2 separate regions of the Homo sapiens genome follow, and region 2 is linked to region 1. Evidence: promoter capture Hi-C in 16 types of primary human blood cells and fetal thymus (Javierre and others, 2016). All regions are on one chromosome and are shown on one strand. Each heading gives the region's core, a stretch centred on a gene start or on the middle of the fragment in contact. The rest is flanking DNA. Distances are from core to core; before and after follow the strand shown. Region 1 overlaps NF1 (neurofibromin 1). Region 2 holds the start of EVI2B (ecotropic viral integration site 2B).

Region 1 (3,549 bases), core at 763-3,262:
TGTGTGTCTTGCTACTACTAGACCATGGCCTACTCTGAGGGGAAAACAGTCATGACATGGGTGGCAATGCTTCTGTTTGGGCACAGTGTTATTCCTGAGAATTACAATTACATAAATTGTAGTAATGTAGATGAAGTCACTAGGGTGAAGGTATCTTCAAAAAAGTGCTAAGAACATTCCACTTTCTGTTTTGTGAAGCAAATAACCGTCAAACCTCAAATAATTTTAAAGGCCTTATTTATCTCCTGTTAAATGTTGAGGGTACAAAACAAGCTATAAAGTTGTTCACATACTATGACCTCAAGTATATAAAAAAAAGAAACTGGAAGGAAATGCACCAAAATGTTAATAAACAGTGGTTATCTATCTTAGAATGATAGGATTGTGGGTAACTTTTTCCTTTTATTTTTCTGAATTTTCCAATTTTTTTCCTAATGAGCACATTAATTAAAAATGTAAAAGTACGAGTGACTTGTCAGCCCCATCCCTCATAACCAAAAGCTTCAACACTATGTCAAAAGTTGATATTCTACTTCTTTTCTCAAATTCATTTTTCATCTAAATTCTTGTTTTTGGAATGTATGTTTTCTTCCTACTTAGTGACCCAACTGTATAAATCACACATAGGTAAATGTGGTGTGACTGTGATTCCTAAGTTCAACTTCACAGCAAAGATGTTTTACTGTAAGGATCAAAGGAGAAACTAACAAAAATCTTGGAAAGTCATTAAAAAAAAACAATTAAAATGCATTACGTTTACACCAAAATATATCTTGAAAAAGCCAAGGTAGTATGAAACAGAATGATCATAGTATCTAGTTCTGGCATTTAAGTTTCTCAGCATAATTCTCACTTCTAAGAATTTTGGCAGCATTCTTTCTTTTTATCCTCTAAAATTAAATCTAGAAATCTCTCTAGGAACTGGTGAAGGATTTCACCTCAATATCCCATAGGAAAAACTCTCAGATTATCTGATAGACCACTCCAATGCAGACAGAACACATCCTGTATTGCTATATGCCATATTTTAAGTTAGTGAGAAGGCCTTGGTGCTGCACTTCTTTTCATCAAAACCCCTTTAAAGTTTTGTATTCTGGTATCTCTTTTGCCCCTAAAGCATTGGCTCTCCTTTCTGGCCTTTGGTGGACAACAAACAGACAAAACTACAAAGTGACTGACAGAAACCCAGAGGCTACCACACAAAGGAAATAAAGCTAAAACTTCTGTGGTCCTGATTTGCCAGCTTAAATGACCCCACAGATATGCTGTGGTCAAACATGCAGCCAATTACAAACATGCAGAGCAGAAACAGCTGGACATTCTGTACAGCAGTATATCAGCAGTACTATGTTTCAATAAATTGTGGTGGTTCCAGATAAAGACAAAATCCTAACTAGAAGGTGTTATTGGCCAAAATTCAGTGAATTTGAGTAGCTGGGGAAAAGGATTAGATTACATTATTGTTATTTAAGTTAGATGTCTATCTTCCCTGCTAGAACATGAGTTCCTTGAAGGCAGGTATCAAGGTTTGTGTATTTTTACAACTAGTGATGTAGCTCCAGCCTGACAATTTTTTAGTCACTCATTTTTAAAAAACACTTTTGGTTTCCCAAACTGAAATAATCAGTTATAATAGTATCATGAAATAATAAAACAACAGAATCGCTTTTAACTCTTGAAAAGCTAAGGAAAAATGGGTTAGGTAATTTGTGAGAAGTTATACTACAAAAATGACAGACTAATAAAAACTGAAATCTCCTGCCACCTGTGCAGGAGCACTAGTAGGTTACCTTACTCTGCATTTAGTTTATTTCATATACAATATGGCAAACTTATTAGAAAACTCTTATTACATACAGGAGAACTTAAACATGTCAGAAGACCTAGGTTTGAGACTTGTTTGGATCAATATTCTTATTTAGTTGTAATTCTTAATCTGGCAATTAAGGATAACAGCAGACTTGTCTATTTCAAAGGGTTGTTAGACAAAATAATCTATGTGAAGAATTTTTGCACACAGATAAAATAATTACTCCACAAATTAAGATGCTCCTAATATCTGAAGTAAAAGACCAGGTGATACAAAGGAGTTTTAGAACAAATACTAGGACTTTAATTTTATGCTAGAATTTGTAAAATGAGTGAAGCTAATATAAATAAGCACAAAATAGAATAAATCTTCTTAGGTAGCTACAGCCTATTTTTAAGCTACAGTAAATACATTCATGGAGGCGTATTAAATATATACTTAGAAATATTTTTATTTTGAGCTAAATATAAAAAATTGTAACTATAAGAATTTTTGGCTTGGTATTGTGGCTCATGCCTGTAATCCTAACATTTTGGGAGGCCAAGGCAGGCAGATCTTTGAGGTCAGGAGTTCGAGACCAGCCTGGCCAAAATGGTGAAACCTCGTCTCTACTGAAAATACAAAAAAAATTAGCCAGGCTTGGTGGAACATGCCTGTAATTCCAGCTACTCAGGAGGCTGAGGCAGGAGAATCGCTTGAACTGGGGAGGCGGAGGTTGCAGTAAGCTGAGATCACACCACTGTACTCCAGCCTGGGCAACAGAGAGAGACTCCGTCTCAAAAAGAAAAAAGAATTTTTAAAAATGACGTTCACCAACTGCTAGCACTTCTTTTTCTGTTTAGGTGTAATCTTTTTGTATATTAATTACAGGTGAATAAAAGAAAAGGCATCTTTTATAAATTAGACATAAATGTGTCAAATTTTTTCATCTTAGTCCTTATAGCTAACTAATGACCATATATTTTTTTTTTTTAATTTTTTTGTGAGACAGAGTATTGCTCTGTCACTCAGGCTGGAGTGCGGTGGTGCGATCTCAGCTCACCAAAGCCTCAACCTCCCCACCTCAGTCCTGTGAATAGCTTTTTGTATTTTTTGTAGAAAGAGGGTTTTGCCACGTTACCCAGGCTGGTTTTCAACTCCTGGACTCAAGTGATCCGCCCACCTTGGCCTCCCAAAGTGCTGTGATTATAGGCGTGAGCCATCGCACCTGGCCATATTCCTTTTTTTAACCACAGGTGATTGAATAGACAGCCAGCTTTAATTTCTGAGGAAACACTGGGGTTGGCTTTCTATTTGGGGAAAACAAGTTATTTTCTAAGCTAAAAAAACTTCATCAAACCACGTATTCTGCTCTTTCTCTATTAACTCTCTCTTGAGTTTCTTATTAACCTGCCTTTGTTAGTCCAGGTATGGGATTGCATCTTCATTGTTCTGGGTGGGTATTAGCAGCTCCTTAAACAAGACAGGCCACACACTGGCCGTGCAATTCCTGTTAAGTACCAAGACCTTATAAAGTGGTGGCTTTACAAGTTCCTAAAGTGCCTAAGGCAGACTGAGCTTACAGGGACCGGTGAGTAAAGTCTCATGCTATGTGCCCAGGATGAGTGTGGGGTAAGCAGTATTTTCGTGCAAAGATGATGAAAATAAAGAGTACCTTGATGAGGGAACAGCTGCATGAAAACTGCTGATTTAGAGCAAGGCAGAGAAGCTTTACAAAGAATGGAAGAAAAAAAAGCAAG
Region 2 (3,549 bases), core at 775-3,274, 55 kb after region 1:
AAATAAATAAGCCAGCCAGCGAGCATAGTAGCATGTGCCTGTAGTCCTAGCTACTCGAGAGGCTGAGGCAGGAGGATTGCTTGAGGTCAGGAGTTCAAGACCAGCCTGCGCAACACAGCAATACCCTGTCCGTAAAAACAACAATACTTCCAAAAACCAGTGAATCAAAAGCTTTATAGCATTTGATTATATTATGCTTTATAGTAGGAGCCCATAAAAAAAAACTATTCTTTTTGCACCAAGCTATAAGTACCCTGAAGTTAAGAACAAGGTCATAATAACCTGTGTTTCCCGCAGTGACCAGGAAAAAGCAGTGCATGGGTTAACACATTCCGTACCTACTATAATATGCATCATCCAAGGCACTTTACATTTATTTAATTCCACAATAAGCTTATAAATTAGGAATTATGATCTCCATTTTTCAAGAGAGGAAAGGTGACTTACTCAAAGAAATTTTTATTCAGATGGACTCACTCCTTTCAATACACTTTGTTTAGTTAACTTAAAAATTTTTTGTATTTTAAATTTTTGTGGGTACATAGTAGGTGTATATATTTAAAGGGTAATGAGATGTTTTGATACAGTCACGCAACGTGAAATAATCACATCATGGAGAATGGGGTATCCATCCCTTCAAGCACTTATCCTTTGTGTTACAAAGGATCCAATTACACTTTTAGTTATTTTAAAATGTATAATTATGGTATTAATGACAGTCACTCTGTTGTGCTATCAAATAGGTCTTATTCATTCTTTCTATTGTTTTTTGTACCTATTAACTGGTAACACCATCTCCCCAACCCCTCATTACCCTTTAGTAACAAGTTAACTTTAGTTAACTTCTTATTTAAAAAATGATCCCCAATTTATTTTATTTTCCACTGAGAAGTAACTACTTTGTGGGTAATCAAATAAATAGTTGAGAACTTGAACTCAAAAGTCACTAGTAAAATATTTGGTCAAAATAATTTAATTACAAATATACAAATGGCAAACAGGCATACGAAAGGGTACTCAGCACCACTGATGAGAGAAATGCAAATCAAAACTACAATGATACCTCATCTCACCCCAGTTAAAATGGCTTATACTCAAAAGACAGGCAATAACAAGTGCTGGGAAGGGTGTGGAGAAAATGGAACTCTCGTACGCTGTTAGTGGGAATGTAAATCAGTAAAACCACTATGGAGAACAGTTTGGTGGTTCCTCAAAAAACTAAAAATAGAGCTATCATATGATCCAGCAATCCCACTGCTAGGTATATACCCAACAGAAAGGAAAACTGTACAAAGAGACATCTGCACTCCCACTTTTGTTGTAACACTATTCACAACAGCCAAGATTTGGAAGCAACCTAAGTGTCTATAAACAGATGAATGGATAAAGAAAATATGGTACATATACACAATGGAGTATTATTCAGCCATAAAAAAGAATGAGATCCTGTCATTTGCAAAATAATGTAATTATACTTTTACCCTGGACTTTTTATATTATGAGGAAATAACATTACATTTATTGGTTACCTGCAGTTGGTGAGGCATTTATACATGTTATATTATGCTATCTTATTTAATCCTCACAATAACCCAATAAAATATTCCTTTAGAGGAGGAAACGGTGACTCAGAAGTGCAGAGTCTTGCCTAAGGTCATACAAGTAAACAGAACACATCACTCACTTCTTATGAGAAGAAATCTCACTGTAAGTGATAACCCAACTGGCAGCTTTTCTTCTTAGAACATGTAATTTTCTCTTCGGGACTCCATCCTAAATATTTAATTTACATAATCATATTACTAGAGTATCTCAAATATTTATTTACATAATTAAAAGCACTCAAATCATAGGGCTCCAAAATGTATTTCAAAATAAGTTCTGTTAAAGTAATATATTTCTTAGTCACTTTGTGGTTTATTGCACTTCCGGAACCAGCTATTGATAAACTTCCTCTTTTTCTACAGAAACTATTTCAGTTTGCTAGAGGAACATTTTAAATCTGAATTGAACCACCCATTTTCCTTTCTTAGCCAAATCACCAAAATGTCCAGTTAGAACAAGAATTTAGCATTCTGCAAAAGAAGTTAACAGCTGAGGTAAGAAAATTTTCACACAATTTGGTTTGATCTTGCTTTATATAAAATTTATTTTAAAAACTGTCATTAGTGTTTTAAACTTAAACTCTGATAGTCTAAAGATGTCTATAACAGGTTTTTGTGGTTTTGTTGCATAGAATTAAAAAATACTCAGTTCAGCTTGCCTTAGAAAAATATTTTCACCTAGGTTTGTATAAGACCTTTTAAGTTTATTTAATCTCACACACACACACACACACACACACACACACACACATATTTTTTTTTTTTTTTGAGATAGAGTCTTGCTCTGTCTCCCAGGCTGGAGTGCAGTGGCACGATCTCAGCTCACTGCAACCTCCACCTCCTGGGTTCAAGCAATTCTCCTGCTTCAGCCTCTCAAGTAGCTCGGATTACAGGCGCCCACCACCACGCCTGGCTAATTTTTTTGTATTTTTAGTAGAGATGGGGTTTCACTATGTTGCCCAGGCTGGTCTCCTACTCCTGACCTTGGGTGATCCGCTTACCTCCGCCTCCCAAAGTGCTGGGATTACAGGAGTGAGCCACCGCTCCCAGCCACAATCATATTTGTTAACCTTAGTTTTAGAATTAAAAAGAAACTATAGCCATGGCAGATAAAGCTAAGGGTTAGAAATAGAACTAGATTCCACAGGCTATGACTGAATTTATAACCTCCAAAATATTAATTGTTAAAAGTTCTAATGTACTTTTTATAGAATTTTCCTGTACATAATATAATGCATAAATTAAAATTTTTGTATCCCCTTTAGTTTGCATAGTAAGAATGGTCACTTTCACTTAATTTAGAAAGAAAAAGAAATCAGATGTGGTATTTGACTATTATTATTATACATGCTTTATTTTTTACATATAGATTTTATATTTAATAATGATGACATGAAAACATTATGGCTCATTTTAAAAGCTTACTAAGCCAAAAATGTTAGTCAATAATCAAACATGCATGCGTATATTAATATCATCTACGTGTTTATGTCACATTATCTGAGACTTTAGAACATAGTATAAGATAGAAGAAACCTATAGAATAAACAATAGAAAATTGTTAATATGCATAAAAGATGCTTGCTGTGGGTAAAATGGGCAAATAAAAACTGCAAAGAGTATTTTACATAGACTTGTAATTTCAGGGAATAATATGTTCATAGTGGGTGATATCCCATTTCAACACTTAATAAATATTCATGACTTTCTCTTAGAAGGATTTCTTCTAAGTAATTACTGTGGAAGTCAGAAAATAAAGATATTTATCTCTTTTTCAGATTAGGCTTGTCTATATATTTTTCTACTTCTAATATTTAGTTTATTTCATTATGCATAAAGTCATAAAATTATATTAAATTTTTTTCACTGTCATATTTCATAAAATTAAAAAATTTCCCATCGATCCTTATGGTGTGTTTTTGTCATAGAATCCCATACTTTTTTT

What was found. Contacts are between HindIII fragments. The CHiCAGO score rates a contact against its expected background, and 5 or more counts as called.
Region 2: a contact is called between the fragment with the promoter of EVI2B here and a fragment that was not itself captured in region 1, in 1 of 17 cell types (naive CD4 T cells). The highest score is 5.9, in naive CD4 T cells.

The regions. Positions count from the first base shown.
Region 1 is chr17:31,367,194-31,370,742 of GRCh38, reverse strand. All of the region lies in intron 57 of NF1 (neurofibromin 1), which reads right to left. Among named protein-coding and RNA genes, the nearest start is that of RAB11FIP4, 23 kb to the left of the region's middle. The HindIII fragment of the contact is 3,017 bases long and covers 504-3,520 here.
Region 2 is chr17:31,312,529-31,316,077 of GRCh38, reverse strand. It overlaps EVI2B (ecotropic viral integration site 2B), which reads left to right and starts at 2,024. Exons shown (of 2, transcript NM_006495.4): 1 at 2,024-2,099. All of the region lies in intron 36 of NF1 (neurofibromin 1), which reads right to left. The HindIII fragment of the contact is 2,631 bases long and covers 396-3,026 here.